2 separate regions of the Homo sapiens genome follow, and region 1 is linked to region 2. Evidence: promoter capture Hi-C in 16 types of primary human blood cells and fetal thymus (Javierre and others, 2016). All regions are on one chromosome and are shown on one strand. The core of a region is centred on a gene start or on the middle of the fragment in contact, and the rest is flanking DNA. Distances in the headings are between cores, read along the strand shown. Region 1 has its middle 60 kb from the start of KCTD3. Region 2 holds the start of PTPN14 (protein tyrosine phosphatase non-receptor type 14).

The links. Contacts are between HindIII fragments. The CHiCAGO score rates a contact against its expected background, and 5 or more counts as called.
Region 1: a contact is called between a fragment that was not itself captured here and the fragment with the promoter of PTPN14 in region 2, in 1 of 17 cell types (naive CD8 T cells). The highest score is 5.3, in naive CD8 T cells.

What each region holds. Positions count from the first base shown.
Region 1 is chr1:215,504,270-215,510,500 of GRCh38, reverse strand. No RefSeq gene overlaps it. Among named protein-coding and RNA genes, the nearest start is that of KCTD3, 60 kb to the left of the region's middle. The HindIII fragment of the contact is 255 bases long and covers 1,987-2,241 here.
Region 2 is chr1:214,548,153-214,553,969 of GRCh38, reverse strand. It overlaps PTPN14 (protein tyrosine phosphatase non-receptor type 14), which reads left to right and starts at 2,368. Exons shown (of 19, transcript NM_005401.5): 1 at 2,368-2,787. RefSeq lists enhancers at 1,242-2,062, 2,063-2,883, 2,884-3,705. The HindIII fragment of the contact is 5,292 bases long and covers 1-4,410 here.

The sequences.
Region 1 (6,231 bases), core at 865-3,364, 960 kb before region 2:
TGCTTTATTGTTTGGGTTTTCTCTTCCTTGGGAACTCCAATTATGAGCAGGTTGAATCTTTTTGCTTGTCTTTTTTTTATATATATATTTTAAGTTCTAGGGTACATGTGCAGACGTGCAGTTTTGTTATATAGGTATACACGTGCCATGGTGGTTTGCTGCACTCATCAACCTGTCACCTACATTAGGTATTTCTCCTAATGCTATCCCTTTCCTAGCCCCCCACCCCCTGACAGGCCCCAGTGTGTGATGTTTCCCACCCTGTGTCCATGTGTTCTCCTGTACAACTCCCACTTATGAGTGAGAACATGCAGTGTTTGGTTTTCTGTTCTTGTGATAGTTTGCTGAGAATGATGGTTTCCAGCTTCATCCATGTACCTGCAAGGACATGATCTCATCCTTTTTTATGGCTGCCTAGTATTCCATGGCATGTATGTGCCACATTTTCTTAATCCAGTCTATCATTGTTGGACATTAGTGTTGGTTCCAAGTCTTTGCTATTGTGAATAGTGCTGCAATAAACATGTGTGCATGAGTAATAGGAACATCTGATGCAAGCTCCTAAATTTCTGGAATTTTCTGTGTGATATGTGATAGGAGTATCTTTTGGTCTAATGAGGTGACTTTGGTGAGCTCCTGGATGCGGGCTGGTCACTGGAAAGATCCAGCCATGATTATAAGCTTGGAGCTTTCTGCCTCAAACCCCATTCTCTGGAGACGGGGGAGGCCTGGAAATAAAATTAAGTATCAATCATGCCTATGTGATGAAGCCTTCAATAAATCCCTAAACTCTGAAGTTTAGGGAGCATTCAGGTTGGGAAACACATTCATGGGGTGGAAGAGTGGTGTGTCCTAACTCCATGAAGACACAAGCTCCTGTACTCGGGACCCTTCCAGACCTTGCCTTATGTATCTCTTCATCTGGTTGTTCATCTCTATTCTTTGTTATAGTCTTTGTTAATAAACTGGTAAATAAAAGTAAAGTGTTTCCCTCAGTTATGTGAGCCACTGTAGCAAATTAATCAAACCTGAGGAGAGAGTTATGGGAACTCCAATTTATAGCTGGTCAGTCAGAAGTACAAGTCACAACCTGAGACTTGTGATTGGAAGTAGGGAGCAGCCTTGTGAAACTCAGCCTTACCCTATGTGATCTGATGATACCTCCAGGTAGACAGTGTCAGAATTGAATTGATTGGAAGGCACCCAGCTGGTGTCTGCCAGGGAATTGCTTGGTGTGTTGTGAACCCCCTTCCAATATCTTGTGTCAGGACAGCTATGCTGAGTGGTGAGTGATAGTAGGAAAAACACTTTGGTTATTTTTATATCTCAGAGTCCCTTCCCCTATGTTAAAATTCTTTTTTTCCTTATTTTAATTTGTTTTACTAATTTGGTTGTTACACTTTTCTATTTCTGTTCTTGTAGTATTTACCCTACTAATGTAGTTAACAAGTTCTAAAGTTAATTAATATTTTAACCATCCTTTCAATTAATAAAAAGACCTTAGATCTTTGTACACCAAAATGTACTTCTCTAAATTTGTACTCTCCTTGTCTATAATTTTTGTCTTGCATATTAAACATTTTGGTAACTGTTTTATATAGTCAACTTGTTAAGCTTACATAAGTTTAACACTTCTTTTTCCTTTTCTTTTTCTACTCATATTATTCATGGAATGTTTGACCTTACTTCTAGGATCATTTTCCTTCACTCTTTTATCCTTGAAGATTCTTTTGGAAGCATTTTTTTTTCAGTACTTTTTCTCAGTTTTTATTTACTTACTTTTTGAAAATGTCTTCATTTGAAATGTTATTGGAACACAGTTTCTATGAATATAAATTTCTACGTTGAAAGTTACTTTATCTTAGCATTTGAATATACTATTTTTTATATATATATCCGGCTTTCATTGCTGCCAATGGAAAGTCAGCTGTCAGCTGTCAAGCTATTCATCACTTTTTTTTAGCCACTGGGATGCTGCACAAAGCTTCTCAGAAATAGCATTGCTCAATTCCCAAGGACACCATTCACATAGACCATAAATGACTAGTACCATCTCTGGTAGCGTACAGCTTGCACAAATGTACATGGCAGGCCTCAGAATTTATCTTTTCTTTCTACTACTTTTAAGATTTTCTCTGTCTTTGATTTTCTGCATTTTTAATACAGATAACTTATTTAAAAGTTTCTTTTTATTTACTCTGCTTGAATTCATCCAGGTGCCTAAATCTAAATGCTGAAGCTTTTATTCTGACAATAACCACAGACATTCCTTCTTCATATATTGCCTTTCCCTTATTCTTTTCTTCTGCTCAGAGCACTGATTAGATTTACATTGGCTTTTCTTCCTCTAGGCTTCATTTCCCTCAATCTCTTTTTCATGTATTATTTTATCTCCCTATGCTGCATTTTTTGGTAATATCTTCAGATTTATTTTCCAGTTTATTAATTTTCTCTTTGGCTTTGTTTAGTCTTCTATTTAACATATGCATTGAATTTTGAGTATTTTCAATTACAGTATTATTTATTTATAGAAGTACTCTTTTTGATATTTGCTTGGTTAATTTTAATATCCTTTTAAATTTAATCATATTCAAAATCTTTTTTCTTTCTTTAATTTATCAAATATATTTACTTTATATTCTATATTTGATAATTCTACTATGATATTTGTTTGTCTGACCCTGCATTTTGAATTTCTGCAGATTCTTGCTCATGGTGCCTTGTTTCTCAGGTGTTTAGTGAATTTCCAAATTGTAATCTGTTTGTTCTATCTTTATATATTGGAATTTTAATGATCTAATAACCTGGGAGGATTATCAAACTGAATCTACTACAGAATAGACTTTTGATTTGCAGTTTTTTAGTCCACACTAATAAAATTTGGTACATAAGCGCCAACTAATGGCTTATGATGCTACAGAAAGATTGCCTTTTCTCCCAGTGCACCCGGAGCCAAATTAGAGATCAGTAAATCATCTTCTTTGGAATGCATTTTACCTGAATCTTTCACTGAGTCTGGAATACCTTTGAGCACACCAGCTTTACACAGGGAGTCTTATTTTAATTTCTACCAAGTCAGACCCCTATGTTTGTGTGGTTTTATAGTCTCAAGCCATCAAGAATTAGCAGATACTCTTTTGTGGTTTTATAATCTCAACCACTAAGAATTAGCAGATGTTCTCTGGAAAAATAAACCGCATTCTTCTTATTCCTGTGATAAGGGATAATTTCCTTTTCTTTACCACAGTCCACTGCCCACTGATCAGCACACTTTCCCTGTAAGGTCTTCTTTGAAACTTCTCTTTAAGTGTGTCTCAGAATTAATCAAATATTCCCACCTACTGCCCTTACTATTCTTCTTTTCATCATGTCTTTAAAAATTTGTAACATTTATTTGTTTCCTTGTATTTTCTCAATTGATGATGAAGTCCTTTACAGAGACTGTGCTTTGTTCATCTCTGTGTCCACAGTACCTCATACTGTATCTGTCTTATAACTTGTTGGTGAATAAATGAATGAATTAATGAATGAACACCATCCTTTTCTGCTTCCATGCCTTTGCTCATGCTGTCCATGTGCTTGAAAGGTCCATTTTTAATAATATCTTTCTGGTTTATCATTAACTTAGATGCCGTGTCTTATAACCTTATTTGGCAGCAATCTGTTCTTTATTGTTGTGGTAATCAATTGCTTTCCTTTCATATAGTTCTGTACCTTTATGCCTTATCCTATAGTGACTATATCATTTATCTCTATATTCCTTACAGTGCCTGACATAGAGCTGTACAGAAAATAGGTGTTCAATAAATACTGTCTGATTGAATAGAAAAATACAGTCATCTTAAGGGCTCATCTCAGGCTCAAATTCTGAACTCCATTATATAGACCATTTGTTTGACTTCTGTCTCAAATATCTTTTCGTCCACACCTAAGGGTTTTCAACTTTTTAGAAGCTAAAACTCTTACGATTATGCACAAATAGGAATTGGCTCATGTGATTATGGAGGCTGAGAAGTTCCACAAACTGCCATCTGCAAGCTGGAGAACCAGGAAAACCAGTGGCATAATTCAGTCTGAGTCAGAAGGCCTGAGAGTCAGTGGAATCAATGGCATAAGTCATAGCCCGAGTCTGAAGGTCCAAGAACCATGAATGCCATGTCCAATGACAGATATGGAATTTTCCTTAAACGAAGGAAAATTCACCCTTCCTCTGCCTTTTTGTTTTATTCAGACTGTCAAGAGATTTGATGGTACCCATCACATTGGTGAAGGTGATCTCTTCCAGAAACACTCTCATAGTTGCATCCAGAAATAATGTTTTACCAACTATCTAAGTTTCTCCGTCAAATTGACATGTAAAATAAACCATCACAACAAGTAAACTAGTAATTAAAATAAAATTCAAAAAATAAAAATATAATAATAAAAATGCTAACAAACAAAGGTAAAAAATATATACTACTAATAGGGGCATAGTGGAGAAATAATCAAATTCCCAGGAATATAAATGAAGGTTTGGGAGAGGATAAAACATTTTAACTGAATCTTAAATAAGTTATTTAGTAGGAGAGGTAGAAAGTCATCCTCACAGAGAGACTATTATGGTTTGTTCTTTGAAATAAAACTTTATTTATTAACACTGAAATTTGAGTGTTTTATAATTATCAGATGTCACAAAATATTCTTCTTTCTAATTTTTTTCCAGTCAAATACAAATGTAAAAAAAAAAAAAATTCTTGGCACGTGGGCCATACAAAAACAGATAGTGAATCAGCTTTGGCCTGCAAGCTATAACTAAATGAATCCTAATCTTTTTGCTCCAAATGCTTCAATCTCCTAATTTTATATTATGGGTTGTTTTGAATGTAGCAAATTTCCAGAGGGAGAAATGTATAGGAAGGGGGGAATCAAAGAGAAGGATATTGTTTGCAACCATTATAAATTAGATTTTAGCACTCCTTGGTCTCTTCCACACCTTTTCACTTGCTCCTTCTTCTGTTTCAGACACTCTTCCCCCACTATCCCTTTGGCTAGCTCCTTACATCTTAGATTTCCATAGTTAGATGTTAGATTAAAAGTTATTTTTCCAGATACACCTTCTTTGATCACCATAGGTAATTTAATTTCTCCTCCCCAGTCTTTATCTTCATCCTGTATTTATTTCTGTAATTTTGTATTTTATTTTGTAATTGTTTGTCTGTTTAAATGTTTAAAAGTCACCTTTGTCTGTATCCTTTCAAATGGAAGCTTGAATGTCTTGTTTACAATTATGTCCCAAGCATAATCAGTGGTTATTAATCATTTTTTGTGCGATGGCTCAGTTTGACAGTATGATGAAACTCCTCAAAGTGATGTTTTTAAGGCCATAAAATAACATATATAATATTCTAGAGGAAGCCAATTATATTAAAACACAATTATTAAAATACTAGAAAATCAAATTTGTGATACAGTAATACATGGAATTTTTCAACAATATCTAGAGATGTATCTAATAACTACTGTACATTTGAAATTGTGATTAGCATAAATGAAATTTCAAAGTTTCTACAACAAATGTAATGTGAAACAAAAAAATATTTGTGACCTTTTATTGGTGACAAAGTCAGAGGTACTGCTAATGATTGTGCTGGAAAGCCATTTAAGCAATGGTGACATGATCTACTTTGTCATGGTTTGCAACACCATGTTGGTCTTGACACCATTTTTGTAGGGATCCATTGAGATTTGCTCCAGGCAAGACCTGCCTTGTCTCCCTAGCCACTTATGCCATGAGGCAGGGAGGTGAATAAATATTACTATTTCTTTAAAAATGTCCAGCTCTTTTGAAGCTTATGCCAGTAGATGACACCAAACATTCCCAATTCTTATTTTATACATTTATTGAATTATTTTGGAATTTTCCTTCATTTCTTGAAAATTTTAGATAATGGCACCATGTTTTTCTTTCCAGTAATACTTCTGTTACAATTTTTGATGATGTCAATGTGTATGTAGATGATTTTCTGATACTTTAGGATCTTGATTCCTTGACCTCTTCATCCTCAATGAATTTGTACTCCATGCCACTTCAACCATTCATTCACATCATCATAACCTTGCTGTGAATAGCAAAAATACCCTCTCCTTAATGTCCCTGAACTCTATCATCTGCCCCCTCAAATATGTAAGACTGCAGTGTTAGCTGGTTTGGGCGTTCAGGGAAATGTCTCCAAGCAGGAAAACCATCAA
Region 2 (5,817 bases), core at 1,119-3,618:
GCATGCCATCTATCTGGAGAAGAGTACTTTGATGGAAGTTTAGTCCTGGGAAAGACCTCAGAGATGAACTATTCCAACCAAGCTCTGCCCTCTTTGCCACACTCTACTTAGAAAATAAATTCAGGCCTAGAGGTGAAGTGCCTTGATCAGGGTCCCAAGGCTGGTCAGAGGCAGAACCGGAACCCTTGTGTCTGCCCAAGAAGGACAACAAGTCCTTTGCTGCTTCTTTTATGCCACAACAGCCTCAGGGTGCTGTGCTCAGTTTGGTAGCACAGTGATGTTAGAGCAACACAATATATTTCCTAGTGTCTTTTCACTAGAAAAGACACCAAGCAAGAGGTCTCCCATCTCCCAGGAAAGAGCAAAGGCCAGAGTTTTACATTGAGATCCTGAAGGCATTTTCTTATCTTTAATCCTAATCCTGTTTGGGTCCAATTTCAAAGAGATGAAGAGCATGCACTTTAGGCCTGACAGACTAGGGCCCTGATCATATCTTCCTAGTTGTATGACCCTCAGTGAGACAGGTAATTTCTTCATGCCTCACTTTCCTCATCTAGGAATGGGGGAGTGCTTTCCACACTTTCTGGAACACAGTCAGGCACTGCCTAATGTTTTCTTTGGAAACCCAGCACGTCTGTACAGCTATTTCCTTTAAAATGTGAGAAAGTTGATTTCCCTTCAACCTTTTCTTTCCATCACTTTTGCATTGCACTCGGCGTTTTCTCTAATTTACAGTTCTAGAGATTGGCAGATGCTCGAAGAAAATCAGAGTCACTACGGATTTATTTATTTTATTTTATTTTATTTTATTTTATTTTTTTGAGAGGAGTCTGGCCGTGTAGCCCAGGCTGGAGTGCAGTGGCGCGATCTCGGCTCACTGCAACCTCCGCCTCCCAAGTTCAAGCAATTAACCTGCCTCAGCCCCAGAGTAGCTGGGACTACAGGCGCACGCCGCCACCCCCGAAACATTTTTTGAATTTTAGTAGAGACGGGGTTTCACCGTGTTGCCCGGGCTGGTGTCGAACTTCTGAGCTCAGCCAATCCCCCAGCTTTGGCTTCCCAAAGTGCTGGGATTACAGGTGTGAGCCACCGCGCTTTTTGGTTTCCAATTCTCTTCCCCAAGAGGCCAGGAATTTTTGCATGAGTTGCCGGACACTGAAGTGATTTGGGACAATACATTGTGTGCCAACGACTTCAAGGTCCCTTTTCAACAAAGGACTGGAATCTTACCGAGATAAATCCCAAGACATGTTTGTAGCAATGCAAAGGACCACAGAAATCTAGACAAATTATTTAATTTTGCAGCTACAGAAACCTAGGATCTCAGGGGCTGGGATACTCCTCAGTTATCCAATCGGGCAGGGCCTAAAACCCAGGTTCAGTCGCCTGGCTCCGAGCTTTTTCCATCATACCAGCTGCGTCTCATTAACTCCACCTCCGAAAGTGCTAAGGAAGTTCCCTCCCAGTGCCTACCCAGGCAGGGTGGGGCGATTCTGTGGCATGGAACAAACCGGGAAAACGACATTTTCCAACTCTCAGCACACAGGCTGCTTTTTATCATTCCTACGGGGCGGGAGGGGGCAGGGAGAGAAGGCTAAGACACCGGGTCCAGTACCCAGAGATTCTAGGGAGAGATCTCTGAGATTGCCTACTTGGTGAGGCCACCTTACTTTCTCCTGGTCTGTTTTCCCCTGTGGGGTGGCTGCATGAAACGTCCTGCTTGGAGGGTTCCCCAATATAAGGTGGACTATTCTGAATGTAGGTCGGGGTGAGCAAGTTCCTGCCGCCGCCCCGTCTCTGCGGTCCTCGGAAGTCTAGGTGGGCTCTTCCTTGCCTTGCCTCTTTCTCCCCAACGGCGGGAGCAGCCCAGGGTTGGGGTGGCTGCGGTCGCCTTGCTCTCTCCACTTCCACGTCTCTTACTCCAGGGAGTTTCATCCGGTCCTCCGTCCTCGGCCCCCACCTTTTAAAACATTTTCCAAAACTACCCCATTAAAAGTGTGCGACTTCTCCGGGCCTGCAGAAGGAGCTCCTGCAGCCCGGCATTCCTCGGATTCCAGCGCTGTGACGTCCCCAAGGACGGCGCGCCTCCAGCTCGGGAGCTCGGGAGCTGGGGCTCCACGTTTCAGCGCGCGCCCGCGGCGCCCCCGGCGCGCGCCCTCCCGGGCCGCATTCCTCCCCGCCCCCGGCCGCGCGCCCAGCGCTCCCTCCGCCTCCCGGCCCCCAGGGCCGCGGAGCCCGGCTCTGGGGTGGGGGAGCCGTGGCCGCCGGCGCCTGCTCCGTCCCCTCCCACTCGCACGGCCCCTTCCTCCCTCCTCTCCCGGCCGCTCGCATTTCCTGCCGCTCTGGCTCTCCCGGCCCCTCAAAGTTCTTTCCAACTTTTTCTCGGCGGAGTGAGCGCAGCGGGCGCAGACTCGGGGGCAGGTTGCTGTGCTTCTCCGGGCTCAGCCGCCTGCTCTCCTGGCTCAGGTCCTCGGGGAGCCCTAGACAGACATCAAGTGGCCACTGGCGCTCCTTCCCCTCCCAGCTGAGCCATCCTCCCCGGCCTCCTCGGGCGGGACAGCCCCGTGCTTAGGTTTTTCTCCTTTTCTCCCCCGGTGCGCCTCTGCTCGGACTCTCGCGCCGGGATCGCGGCGGAAACCTCCCTCCCCTTTCGCCTCCTGCGGCTCCTTCCCTTCGCCCCTCCTCCGCCAGTCACTGGAATCAATTCCGTGGGGAATCGGCTCCGCCGCCGCGAAGGACAGCCTTTCCGCGCGGGACTCCGGGGCGCCACGGGGGCCATGTAAGCAGGTAAGCCCCGTCCAAGCCGGGAGTTGGGCCCGAGGTTGGAGGCCGCCTTGGCGCTCCGGGCGCCCTGCAGATGACTTGGGCAGACGCTGGCAACGCCAACTTGCGATTGGCGCCCCGGGACGCCTGGCAGGGCAGCCTGGGGCGCGGGGTGGCCGGGCCGCAGGGGTGTTATCTCGCGGTGGGAGCTGCCCGCGGTGAGGCGCAAAGCTGGTCCCGGGAGCGAGCTGGAAGGTGAGCGCAGTCTGGGGAGTTTGTGGTTAAACCCACACCCTGGTCCCCTCTCTCCATTCCCTTCTGCGTTTTGGGAACGAGAGAGGGCCTCGGAAGGGCAACTAGAGATACCTAGACCTTGGGGGCTAGAGGATGAAAGACGAACGACGTCGCGGTCGCTGCAGCGGTAGGGGGATGCAGCTGCCCGACGCTCCCAATCACACCCCACCACCACCGGGAAGGAATCTTGAGGGGAGCGGAGTTTTCCTGCCCTCTCACTAGGCCCCAGTGGTGCCACCGAACTCCTGGGCGTCGAGGCTCCTACTTGGGTGGTCGAGCTGGCTCGTAGAAAAAAAGCTGTGGCCAAACAATTTCAGATCAGGTCTTCACCTCAAACTTCCAAAGTTGTAGGTATTAACAGCCTCTCCTTCCCCACGTGACCCCCAGATCTCAGGTTTGAATACTTGTAAATGGGGTTTACACCTTTTCGTTTGGAGAGAGCAGTGAGGTAACGCTGCCCCTATCTCCCTTTCCCTCTCACTTCCTTGGGTTCTTGTTCTCCAACCTTCTCATCCCCACCTACAATTTCAGAAATTGTGGGGTTTCCGCTTAAGTCTAGGGACTGGCTGTCGCAGGTTCTTTGTGAAGGTGAGGAATCTCTAGACTGCAGGTGCGGGCAGTTACAGAGTTTCCACCAATGTGTTAACTTCTTGAAATGGATTAGTTTACTCATTCATCCAACAAACCCAGCTTCTACTCTGCTAGGAACAGGATAGAAAGATGCTAAATGAGATCACAGGGCAGGAGTCTGCAGCCTAGTGGAGGAAACTTGAAGGCCGGTGAAGAATGATAATACATGGAAGAGGGGTTCTGTGAGAGTCTGAGGCGAGCTTGGTCCTGGTGAAGGGTGCACTACACTTAGAGGATAGAGGTTGTGCTCCTCTGGAGGGTGTATTCCAGGCAGAGGAAACAGCTCGTGCAGAGTGAACACAAGAAGGACAGAAAGTTTCCCTAGCCATCTGGGGGCCTGAGGGGCATTTATGGCCATGTTGGTGCAGTGTTGCTGGGATAGCATTCTCTCCACCCCCAATATCAGAAATAAATCTAGAAGCACGTTAGCCACTTATGGGAACCACAAGTAGCTTACCGAGGAGCCAAGGCCTCCCTAATTGGATACACCTCCATGCCTGCTGCTGTTTTACCACAAGCAGCTGTTGTATGATCATCTACATTTTAATTGGCCCATGCTCGGTTTCATTAAAATGGTATTGATTCTTCTTTTTTGTCCCCCACATTCAAGCAATGATTCCTTTTTTAAAAAGGCTGTTTGACAGCCGTAGGTGTGGTAATACCGCAGCATTACGGACCTTGTATTATAAAGTTAGCTAATTGTTTGGTGATGAGGTTGAAGCTTGTGCCATAGAAATGACAGCCTTAATGAGCGGGAGCTGAATGGCATGATGCCCTTTTTGCCCAGTCTGAATGGGTGGCCATGAGGTGCAAAATTCGTTCATCTGTATGTCACTAAGTTTGTTATACTTTTCTCTGCTTTTAAGTCATTACTATTGCTTTAGCACAGTTGTGCTAAAGTCGTTCTTTTCTCTGAAACTTTATGAAAATAGAAAACACTATCTTGCACATTTTTGTAGACTAATGGCCCAGGATTCAGCAAATCCTGCCTAGAAAAGTTTCTTACAATGCAGTAGCATTCTGTACGTGGTTTGCCTTTCAAGGGTGTCTCTTCACTGGACTGAAGTGGTGTTGTAGTATTGTTCATAGTGGCTGAGTCCTGGCTGAGGTGGCAGACATCCAGCTTTTGGTGACCTCAGGCCAGTACATCAGAGTGGGAAGAACACACTGACTTCCTACAACTTTGGGTGTTTATCCAAGCCCCTCTACCAGCATCTTTTCTTATCTCAGGAACAGCCCCTTCACAGAAGTTTTCCTGAAGGTGTAGGGACCTGCATGAGAGAAATGGCTGAAGAGAAGCCCACTCCCACTAATCCCAGACATTTGCCCAGTTTCCATCATTGGCTTAAACATGTAATTATTATTAACACTTGAGTTATTCAGATTTGTGCATACTGTGTCATGCTGGTAGCTGTAATAGAAAGGACAGTTAGGCTTTTAATAGGGAAGCACCATAAGGAATTCAGAGAAAAATCAGAATTTTTAGAATAATTCTTATTTGCCCTGAACGGATGGGCTAAGTGTCAAGAACTATGAGGATTTTTTATTTTCCAGTGCCTTCCTTCCTTATTAGAGGTTTAAATTTGCTCCGGGGAAGCAAACATCAACCCTTTGATTACATATTATAGCCCCCCTGGGTTCCATATTCTTGTCATTTTTGAACAAGGATTTCATCAAATTCTTGCATTTGAGCTTCATTACTTAGTCACCAAATGCTGTGTTTTTAAAAAATTCATTTTAAGCCTGAGAACAGTGCTGTGAGCTTTGTTAGAGATAAGGCATGAGAAAGACAAGATGAAATACTTAATTAGCCAATTAAGGAATGAGGGAAAACAAACACGAAAGCTTTGGTAGGGAGGAGGTTCAAGTTAATGTTAAAATACGCTTTTGGATCTCCCCTTACGGATTTAAATTGATTTAATTTACGCTTCCTCTGTATGCATCCCATGGAGGGCTTATTGAGTGGTCCAAGGGGTATGTGTGGCAAATTCTGTAGCTTTTCCTGGCTGTCAGTGTGCTGGAGCAGGCGGTCCAGGTTTGGGAGTTTGAAATATAGCTAGGTTGGAATTCTAGCGCTGCCATTTTTTAGCTGTGTGATGTTGGATGGACGTCATAGCCCTTCTGAGCCTC